3 separate regions of the Homo sapiens genome follow, and regions 2 and 3 are each linked to region 1. The links are contacts of gene promoters, found by promoter capture Hi-C in blood cells and fetal thymus (Javierre and others, 2016). All regions are on one chromosome and are shown on one strand. The core of a region is centred on a gene start or on the middle of the fragment in contact, and the rest is flanking DNA. Distances in the headings are between cores, read along the strand shown.

Region 1 (3,541 bases), core at 321-2,820:
GTAGTCCCAGTTACTCAGGAGGCTTAGGTGAGAGGCTCACCTAGGCCCAGGAGGTTAAGGCTGCATTGAGCTATGATTTTGCCACTGCACTCCAGGCTGGGCCTAGGCCTTTGTAGTCACAGCTACTTGGGGGCAAATGTAGGAGGATCACTTGAGCCCAGTAGGTCGAGGCTGCAGTCAGCTGTGTTTTTTGAGACATAGCAAGACCCTGTCTCAAAAAGAAAAAAAAAAGTAGCTACAAGCTCATTTATGCAAAGGCTAACCACTGTCACAAGTAGAGATGTGCAGAACTGAGATTCAAATGGATGGAATGGCAAGAAAAACTGCCACTTCTGTGAACCTGAAGTCAAACTGCCCTTGTCGTCAAGATAAAAGGTATACATGGTGTGAGCCTGGGCATCTGAAAGGTGTTGCAGCTTTTTCTTTTATTTTTTTGAGATGGAGTCTCACTCCTGTCACCCAGGCTGGAGTGCAGTGGTGCGATCTCAGCTCACTGCAACCTCTGCCTCCTGGGTTCAAGCAATTCTCCTGCCTCAGCCTCCTGAGTAGCTGGGATTACAGGTGCCCACCACCACACCCAGCTAATTTTCGTATTTTTAGTAGAGATGGGGTTTCGCCATGTTGGCCAGGCTGGTCTCGAACTCCTGACCTCAGGTGATCCGCCTGCCTCAGCCTCCCAAAGTGCTGGGATTACAGGTGTGAGCCACCTGTAATTAGCCAGGCTTGGTGGTGGGTGCCTGTAATCCCAGCTACTGGGAAGGCTGAGGCAGGAGAATTGCTTGAACCTGAGAGGCGGAGGTTGCTGTGAGCCGAGATCGTGCCACTGCACTCCAGCCTGGGTGACAGAGTGAGACTCCATCTCTAAATAAATAAATAAATAAATAAAATGAGATGATTTCTGAGTGAGTTAACTAAATCAGGATATGCAGAACAATGCCAAGCATATATTAGCCACTAAAGAATATATAAGTTGCCTGAAAGCCCCTTTAGGGTTTAAACCTGGACTTCATTATTCACAATCACATTCCCGGTCCCCATTACGGAGCCTGGTCACCTGGGTGCTTGTTAGATATGGAAATCATCAGATCCCACCCCAGACCGAGTCAGAAACGTTGAGGGCAGGAGTTCAAGACCAGCCTGGCCAACATGGCGGAAACTCCGTCTCTACTAAAAATACAAAAATTAGTCAGGAGTGGTGGCACAGGCCTGTGATCTCAGCTACTCGGGAGGCTGAGACATGAGAATCCCTTGAACCTGGGAGGCAGAGGCTGCAGTGAGCCAAGATGGTGTCATTGCGCTCCAGCCTGGGTGACAGAGTGGGACTCTGTCTCAAAGAAAAAGAAAAAAAGAAAAGAAATTGCAGCTTCTGCTCAGGAAGTCTGGAGTGGGCCAGGATTCTGCATTTTAACAACTCCCAGGAGTGTTAGTGGGGCTGGTTTGTGGACTCGCCTTTGAGTCGTTGGTCTCCGCTCAATCAATATTAGATAAAATGACAGTATTGGGAGAAATCCAGGGGGCTCTGGAGGACCGAGGGATCATATTGGAGGCAGATAGGGCAGAGAAAGGTGGAGGAGGTGGGAGTCGGGTGTGGCTGTGGAGGAAGCTACTTAAATCCGGATTTGATCTTTGCTAGTTCTTATCCCTGGACCTGAACCCAGGCGCACATCTGGATTAGAAGATGCCAGGCTCAGAGGATCTTCGTAAAGGTAAGCCAGAAAAAATGAGAACCGAAGCAAAGACACGTGAAGAAGTGGAAAGCAGCTGGCGGCGGGAAAAGGCAGAGGGACCAGGCGGCCGAAGCTGGTGCTTCGTCCACGTGGGTGGCAGGGACTTCCCACAGAGGCTGTCATCGTTTTTGTTGTTGTTGTTTTGTTTTGTTTTGTTTGTCTTTTGAGACAGTCTCACTCTGTCGCTCAGGCTGGAGTGCAGTGGCACGATTTCGGCTCACTGCAACCTCCACCTCCCAGGTTCAAGCAATTCTCCTGCCTCAGCCTCCCGAGTAGCTGGGATGACAGGCACACGCCACCACACCTGGCTAATTTTTTTTTTTTTTGTATTTTTAGTAGAGCCGGGGGTTTCACCATATTGACCAGGCTGGTCTCGAACTCCTGACCTTGTGATCCGTCTGGCTCAGCCTCCCAAAGTGCTGGGGTGACAGGCGTGAGCCACTGCACCCGGCCCAAGTTTTGTATCTTTATAGAGATGGGGTTTCACCATGTTAGCTAGGTTGGTCTCAAGCCCCTGACCTCATGTGATTGGCTGGCCTCGGCCTCCCAAAGTGCTGGGATTACAGGCATGAGCCTCGGTGCCCGGCCGCGGCTGTCATCTGACAGCACAGGCAAATGCAGGGAAGCCTGTTTCTGCCTTCAAATCCGAAATCTTCTCCCTCGTAGTTGTGTCCTAATTCTTCCCACCCCGATGCTTGTTCTTGAGCACAGGGGAATCTGATTCCTATGAGGATGATTAGGTCCTAGATAGAATATAGGCTTAGCCAAGCTGGAAATCTCATGTTCATGAGCACTTACTAGACTCTGGAGCTGCTGCCAAACCATTTTCAGGCATGATGCGATTCAGATCTTTTAGAGCGAGGCATGCGGTGGCTCATGCCTGTAATCCCAGCACTTTGGGAGGCCGAGGTGGGCAGATCGCTTCAGCCCAGGAGTTCAAGACCAGCCTGGGCAACAAAACAAGACGTTGTCTCTACAAAAAATACAAAAATTAGCCGGGCATGTCAGTGTTGTGTAGTTCCAGCTACTCGGGAGGCTGAGGTGAGAGGATCGCTTGAGCCTGGGGAGGTTGAGGCTGAAGTGAGCTGTGATCATGCCACTGGGCAACACAGCAGTACACTGTCTCAAGAAAAAGAAAGTAAAAGGTGACATCCGTGACAGCAGTGATGTTATTTTTCTGCTTATTTCCTTGCTATATTCCTAAAAGAATATACTTAATGAACATTGAATAAATGATAAGAATAAAACCATGTCCATCCATTTCACCTTGGATTGAGTTGCCTATTTCTACACAAAGAAAATAGAACCCAAGAGGTAAGGCACAAGCGATCCCTTATTTACGTATTTATTTATTTATTTATTTATTATTTTCTTGAGACAGGGTCTCCCTCTGTCTCAGGCTGGAGTGCAGTGGCATAATCTCGGCTCACCACAGCCTCTGCCTCTGAGGTTCAAGCGATTCTCCTGCCTCAGCCTCCCGAGTAGCTGGGACTACAGGCGTGCACCATCACGCCCAGCTAATTTTTGTACTTTTAGTAGAGACAGGGTTTCACCATGTTAGCCAGAATGGTCTTGATCTCTTGACCTCATGATCCGCCCGCCTTGGCCTCCCAAAGTGCTGGGATTACAGGCATGAGCCACTGTGCCCGGCCAAATTTTTGTGTTTTTAATAGAGATGGGGTTTCACCATGCTGGCCAGGCTGGTCTCAAACTCATGACCTGATATGATCTGCCCGCCCTGGCCTCCCAAAGTGCTGGGATTACAGGCGTGAGCAAGGGATCCCATATTTAAATGATAACAGAAAAAAAGGATG
Region 2 (3,541 bases), core at 324-2,823, 1.8 Mb before region 1:
TGACCTTGAGCTTCAAAAGGCACGACCCAGGATTGAGCCCCATGACACAGCACACAGCCTGGTGAGGACCAGAAGTTCCCATTTGTCACAGACACTCAGTCTAGCCTAGAAGATTTCCATGTCCAGTCTCACTTAATCCTCACCTGAAAGTTAGACTTCACCACAAAACTGTCCTTGTTCTGCAGAGGAGAAAACTGAGGCTCAAAGAGATATCACTGACCAAGAACCCATATTGGCAAGGTGCCAACGATAAGAGTAGCGATCTAACTGACCCCAAAGCCCAGTGTTCTTTACTCTGTAACAGTGATGCTCAACTGGGGGGAGTTTTGCCTCCCACGGGACCTTTGACAATGTCTATAGACACTTTCAGTTGTCACTCCTGAAGGGGGAGTTGCTACTAGCATCGGTGGATAGAGGCCAGGGGTGTTGCTAAATATCCTACTGTGCACAGAACAGTCCCCCACAACAAAGAATTACACAGCCCCAATTGTCTGTAGTGCCAACGTTGAGAAACCTTGAGCTACATTAAACAATGTCCCATGAAAGACCTCAGTGAAAGTGACTGGTAATGACAGGAAGAAAAGAAGGAAGAGAGAAAGGGAAAGGAGGAAAAAACCATGATACTAGGGTATGACCACATGCTGGAAATATCTGGGGAACTCCTTTCAAATGCAGCATTTTAGAGTTGCAACGGTAGTGGCTCTAAAGTTGCTCATCCTGAATTTCAAATCTTGCTGCCTCCACTGACCGGCTGGACATGATGCTGAAAAAAAAAAACCTACAAAAACCCCAAGGCCATGAATTCCCTCTGGTACAAAAAGGGGTAATGATGGCTGCCCACAATGTTATTATGAGTATTATTTGTGAACAAGTGCTGTATAATTGCTGTTACTTTTAGAGAGGCTGGATATCCCAAGGTAGGAAGAGTCTCTAATTTTCCTGGCCATAAAAATCACTGTAGCTTTTACACAGAGAGATTCTAGAGTTGGGTTCATGAATATGCATTTTAACAAATACCTTGGATGTTTCTGATACAGCCCACAGACCACAGTATAAGCAAATTTGGTCAAGTGGCAAAGACACAAGGGACACAGAGACCTTTGGGTTGAGTTGGATGCAACAGCTTCCCATGTGACCTGGTGCAGAGGCAGGGACTGTAATTTTGTGATTCTGTTTCTTAAAAGCAAGGAAATAGATCCCAGAAAGATGCCAGGATATCCTCCCATAGTGTTATTGCCCAGAATTTAGTCATGTTTCCACCAATAAAGCAATCCCTTGCAAAGCAAAAGGAATTCTAGTTAGAACAAATTAGAAAATCAAGATATGCCCGCAAAGATGGAGGAGGGATACCTTCCCCCAAAAGAGTGAGTAACTGAACAAAATTGCGATTTGATTTGCAGAGAAGAAATGAGGAACAGTTATTTGTGGGGGGAGGGGGCATCACCAGCAATATCTGTCAGAATTGTTGCATAGAGAAAGGGCTTAGAAGTCAGACTAAGCTAGATTAAAGATCTTTGTCTACTGTTTCCTACTTAAGTGACCAGCAGATTTCACAATTGCTCTCAACATTGAGTCATTCCTGTGGAAACTACAAACAATGAATATTACAGAGCTACTATGCAGACCAAACTACAACCCATATGTAGCAATTAACACAGTGAATAGTCTCTGATAAGAACCCTACAAATACTAGCTAAATATTCATGCTCATTCTGTTTATCCCACAGACCTTGAAGATATACAACGGATGCTAAGTAGGGACAATGAAAAGCAGACGGGAGAAAGTAAATATAGGGCCCTCTTTGTTGACTTCATCTAGCACAGAATCTATAGGATGTAATATATTTCTGCTCTTTTTTTTTGTGGGGGGAAATGGAATCTACTCTGACATCCAGACTGAAGTGCAGTGGCACGATCTTGGCTCACTGCAACCTCTGCCTCCCAGGTTCAAGCAATTCTCCTGCCTCAGCCTCCTAAGTAGCTGGAGTTACAGGCTCTTGCCACCACACCTGGCTAATTTTTGCATTTTTAGTAGAGATGGAGTTTCACCATGTTGGCCAGGCCAGTCTCCAACTCCTGATCTCAAGTGATCCACTCTCCTCAACCTCCTAAAGTGCTGGGGTTACAGGCATGAGTCACCACGCCCGGCCTATAGCATGTAATATATGTCTATATATTACAAGTAATGGTTCAAAATCCTCTTCAGCTAACTCAATCCAAACCCTAAAACTTCAAATTAAATATCAACTAAAAAATAGGTCAAGGGTCCTCACAGTGGGAGGGACAGGAGCTGGGAGACTGGGAGAGCATGGGGCCGAAAGAAGTTGCAGAGCTTGCCAGCATGTTTGCATTGAGTGATGGAGGCCACAGATGTGAACCTTCTGACTCTGAGTCTTGTGCCTTCCTCACGAAGCTGAAGCTGCCTATGCTCAATTTTCCATTGTCCATACACTCTCAGTTCAGTATTTCCGCTGGTGGACAGAGCCCTTTAATCCTCTTGGTAATCAGCTTGATAGGTGGCATGCATATTAATAATGATGGGAATATAGAGAACTATCGTTTCCCAAAGGAACTCCGAGAGAGTGCCAATTTTATGTTATAACCATTCACAAGGCTCACTGGGGAGGGTCTGCTGGTAGGAGGAGGAGCTACAGTGGAAGTTAATGAATAGTTGTATTGTAAGATGGTGTCACAGCTGAGAAATGGCCATTGCTGAAATGTTTCAGGTGTGGGAAGATGGAAACCAACTTCTCCATTCCTCTGAATGAAACTGAGGAGGTGCTCCCTGAGCCTGCTGGCCACACCGTTCTGTGGATCTTCTCATTGCTAGTCCACGGAGTCACCTTTGTCTTCGGGGTCCTGGGCAATGGGCTTGTGATCTGGGTGGCTGGATTCCGGATGACACGCACAGTCAACACCATCTGTTACCTGAACCTGGCCCTAGCTGACTTCTCTTTCAGTGCCATCCTACCATTCCGAATGGTCTCAGTCGCCATGAGAGAAAAATGGCCTTTTGGCTCATTCCTATGTAAGTTAGTTCATGTTATGATAGACATCAACCTGTTTGTCAGTGTCTACCTGATCACCATCATTGCTCTGGACCGCTGTATTTGTGTCCTGCATCCAGCCTGGGCCCAGAACCATCGCACCATGAGTCTGGCCAAGAGGGTGATGACGGGACTCTGGATTTTCACCATAGTCCTTACCTTACCAAATTTCATCTTCTGGACTACAATAAGTACTACGAATGGGGACACATACTGTATTTTCAACTTTGCATTCTGGGGTGACACTGCTGTAGAGAGGTTGAACGTGTTCATTACCATGGCCAAGGTCTTTCTGATCCTCCACTTCATTATTGGCTTCAGCGTGCCTATGTCCATCATCACAGTCTGCTATGGGATCATCGCTGCCAAAATTCACAGAAACCACATGATTAAATCCAGCCGTCCCTTACGTGTCTTCGCTGCTGTGGTGGCTTCTTTCTTCATCTGTTGGTTCCCTTATGAACTAATTGGCATTCTAATGGCAGTCTGGCTCA
Region 3 (3,541 bases), core at 297-2,796, 1.8 Mb before region 1:
TCTCACCTGTATAGGTTCTCTGTTATATAATGAGAGTTGACTTACAGGACAAAACCTTCCCACATCCACTGTATCCATAAGATTTCATTCTTGCATGGCAAGTTTTTCGATGCTTACTGAGACCTGTCTTTTGGGTGAAAGCTTGTTGACCTTCATTGCATCATAGGGTCTCTCTCCTGTGTGAATTGGCTGATGAGTCATGAGATATACCTTACTGGAGAAGGCCCTATCACAGTCTGAGCATTCATATGATTTATTTCCTATATGAGTTCTCTGATATACAATGAGATTTCCCTTTGATGTGAAGGCTTTATCACATACATTGCATTTGAAGGGTTTCTCACCTGTATGGGTTCTCTGATGTATAACAAAGTTTTTTTTGGAGGATAAAACCTTCCCACATTCACTGCATTCATGGGATTTCCTTACTGCATGATGAGTTTTCTTATGATTGTTGAGATCCAACTTCCAGATGAAAGCTTCTTGACATTCACTGCATCCATAGGGTCTTTCTTCTGTATGAATTCACTGATGCTTCATAAGCTGAGCCTTTTTCAAGAAGGCTTTCTCATAATCCAAGCAAGCATATGGTTTCTCTCCTGTGTGAGTTCTCTGATGTATAGTTAGCTGTGTTCTAACCATGAAGGCTTTATGATAGACTTTGCACCTGAAAGGTCTCTCTCCTGAATGAGTTCTGAGATGCAAAATGAGGTTCGACTTCCAAGGAAAAGCTTTCCCACATTTACTGCATCCATAGAATTTTCCTTTTCTATGAAGAACTTTCTGAGGATAACTGAGCTCAGATCTGGTCTTCAAAGCTGTTTGACATTGAATGCATTAATAGGGTATCTCTCCTGTGTGAATTCACTGATGAATCATGAATAAAGCCTTTTTTGAGAAGGCTTTTTCACAATCTGAGCAAGCATATGGTTTCTCTCCTGTGTGAGCTCTCTGATGTACAGTGAGATGTGTCCTAACCACAAAGCCTTTATCACATACTTTGCAAATGAACGGTCTCTCTCCTGAATGATTTCTTTGACATAAAATGAGTTCTGACTTCCAAGGGAAAACTTCTCCACATTTGCTGCATGTACAGACTTTCCCTTCTCTATGATGAGTTTTCTGATGATACACAAGCCCTGAATTTGTAATGAAGGCTTTTTGACATTGATTGCATCAGTAGGGTCTCACTCCTGTTTGAGTTTGCTGATGAGCAATGAGCTTTAACTCACTGGGAAGGGCTCTCCTAAAATCATGAGATTCCTGGGATTTGTTTCCTGCATGAGTTCTCTGAGGCATGGTCATGAGTAGTTTACAAGTATTCACTGCACATTCACTGCATCCATATGATTTCTTTCCAAAAAGAATTGGTTATAATTAGCAAGCTCTGACTTCTGGATGTTATGAAAGCTAGTGTACGCACAACAGAGTAAGTGAGATAACAAGAAGAGGTCCAGAAAAAGGCTTCTTTTCCCATTTACCATAAAAAGATATTAGTAAGATGGTTAAATTTGAGTAAGCTCTGTATTTTAAATAATAATACTATATCAATGTCAATATTCTGATTTTGATCACAGTATTCTGATTATGCAAAAGAATGCTCTTCTTCCTATGAAATACACACTTGGGTTTTAGGGTAGAGTTCAGAAAAACCATATGTACCTGTGTGTGGTGTGTGTGTATAGATAAAATAAAGCAAATTGGTAAAATCATATTTTGGGGAAATTTGCAAAAAGAATGTGCAAGAATTTTGTGTATCATTTTGGAACATCTCATTAAATCTAGACCATTTGGAGACAAGCATTTTCAAAAGGAGAAAATAAAAATAAAGATATTGATGAAAACATACATAGGGACACTAAGTATAATGGCCTGAATGTAAAAGAGATAAACAGTGTAATATTCACCCAATGCCATTCTGCACAGGACTCAGATTCTTGATCTAGGTGCTGGTTGCACAGTGTGCTGACTAGAAAGTTACCTAGCTGTATAATTACATTATATGTATGTTATACCAAAACATTTTTCATTAATAAGTAAACAAAAACGTTTAGGCCGAAATCAGGGAATGCTCCCTTGTAGGAGGATCCTGAAAAGAATTTGGATCTTGTGCTAACAGTAACAGGATGCCATTACCAATGATAGTGGGAGCAGGATGACATGTCCTGATTTCCAATTTAAAAGCAACATCCTGTGTGTATGTTTATCAGTAATTAACACTGACCATGTCTTAAATATTATGGCATGAATATTTTTAGGCTTGCACCCTGTGAATGAGTACAGATTTGCTACATCATATAGCATTTTTTAGACCATAATTTAGATCTTTCCATCCTCCAACTAAGATTTACCTTTTTATATGAAGCTTTAATTACTTTCCGCAACACTTTTGTCAAAATCTGAAGTCTTTTAAGAACCAAGATGTTTCTGATGTTTATTTTAATGTTCAGGGATTTTGGAGGTGAGGGGCTAGAAACACTGACTCCTGCCCCTGACTCCCGCCCCTGACTCCCGCATTTATTTTCATAAATGAAAATAGTAAAATAAATTCATTAAGGGTATTATGTGGAGAATAGAAACAAGAGTAAAGGACTGAGAGTATATTAGAGAAAACTATCATAATTTTGGCAAGAGATAATGGACATCGAAGCTTGAGTGAAAATAACTGTTAGAGAAAGGAGTAGAGGACCTCGAGATATAAGGAGAAAGTAAAGTCTAAACTTGCTAAATGGACTGGATTTGTGGGATGAGTGAAACGGTGAAGCAAGGATGACTTGAAGTTTGAGTTAGCTATTAGATCTCCAAGCAATTCCCAGGCAAATGTAGGAGGATAAGGAAATATCTAGCCTGTAGAGAGAAATCTGTGAGTCATCAACATATAAATAGCATTGTTAAGTCCATGAAATCGAAGAGGTCACACTGGGAACAAAGAAAAGAAATTACCAATGATGAAGCACCCTTACGCCCTCCAACTCTGAAGGCTTTGGGAGAAGGAGATGCCCAGAGAATGGAAAAAGTCCATCCATCACGCTCAAACAATAAGTACCCAGAAAAGAGGCCAACTTAAGTCTTAGGAACCAACATCTGTGGGAAGCAAGATAAAATGAAGTCTTCTCAGCTCTTCACATAAATGTAAGTGCTGTCACTCTGTTTCAGATTCATTCTTCTTTAATTCTGCATGCAACAGTCAATGAACTTTCCCAAAGATTTTTTTTTTCTTGAGACGGAGTTTCGCTCTTGTCACCCAGGCTGGAGTGCAATGGCGCAATCTCAGCTCACTGCAACCTTCGCCTCTAGGGTTCAAGTGATTCTCCAACCGCACCTCTGGAGTAGCTGGGATTACAGGGCACTCGCCACCATGCCCAGCTAATTTTTGTATTTTTAGTAGAGACAGGGTTTCGCCATGTTGGCCAGGCTGGTCTTGAACTTCTGACCTCAGGTGATCCACCCACCTCGGCCTCCCAAAGTGCTGGGATTACACACGTGAGCCACCATGCCCGCGCCTTCCCAAAGATTTCTAACACCATATATACAGGAACAC

The links. The method cuts DNA at HindIII sites, captures the fragments that hold promoters and counts their contacts. A CHiCAGO score of 5 or more calls a contact.
Region 2: a fragment that was not itself captured here is called in contact with the fragment with the promoter of DPRX in region 1 in 5 of 17 cell types (naive CD8 T cells, naive B cells, total CD4 T cells and 2 more); the score reaches 8.8 in naive CD8 T cells.
Region 3: a contact is called between a fragment that was not itself captured here and the fragment with the promoter of DPRX in region 1, in 5 of 17 cell types (total CD4 T cells, non-activated CD4 T cells, naive CD4 T cells and 2 more). The highest score is 7.9, in total CD4 T cells.

The regions. Positions count from the first base shown.
Region 1 is chr19:53,630,429-53,633,969 of GRCh38, forward strand. It overlaps DPRX (divergent-paired related homeobox), which reads left to right and starts at 1,571. Exons shown (of 3, transcript NM_001012728.2): 1 at 1,571-1,706. The coding sequence starts at 1,679. The HindIII fragment of the contact is 17,175 bases long and covers 1-3,541 here.
Region 2 is chr19:51,821,013-51,824,553 of GRCh38, forward strand. It overlaps FPR3 (formyl peptide receptor 3), which reads left to right. Exons shown (of 2, transcript NM_002030.5): 2 at 2,727-3,541. The coding sequence starts at 2,737. It also overlaps a transcript of ZNF577 not described here. Among named protein-coding and RNA genes, the nearest start is that of FPR3, 28 kb to the left of the region's middle. The HindIII fragment of the contact is 5,603 bases long and covers 1-3,541 here.
Region 3 is chr19:51,861,894-51,865,434 of GRCh38, forward strand. It overlaps a transcript of ZNF577 not described here and the pseudogene LOC100419706. Among named protein-coding and RNA genes, the nearest start is that of ZNF577, 24 kb to the right of the region's middle. The HindIII fragment of the contact is 1,634 bases long and covers 730-2,363 here.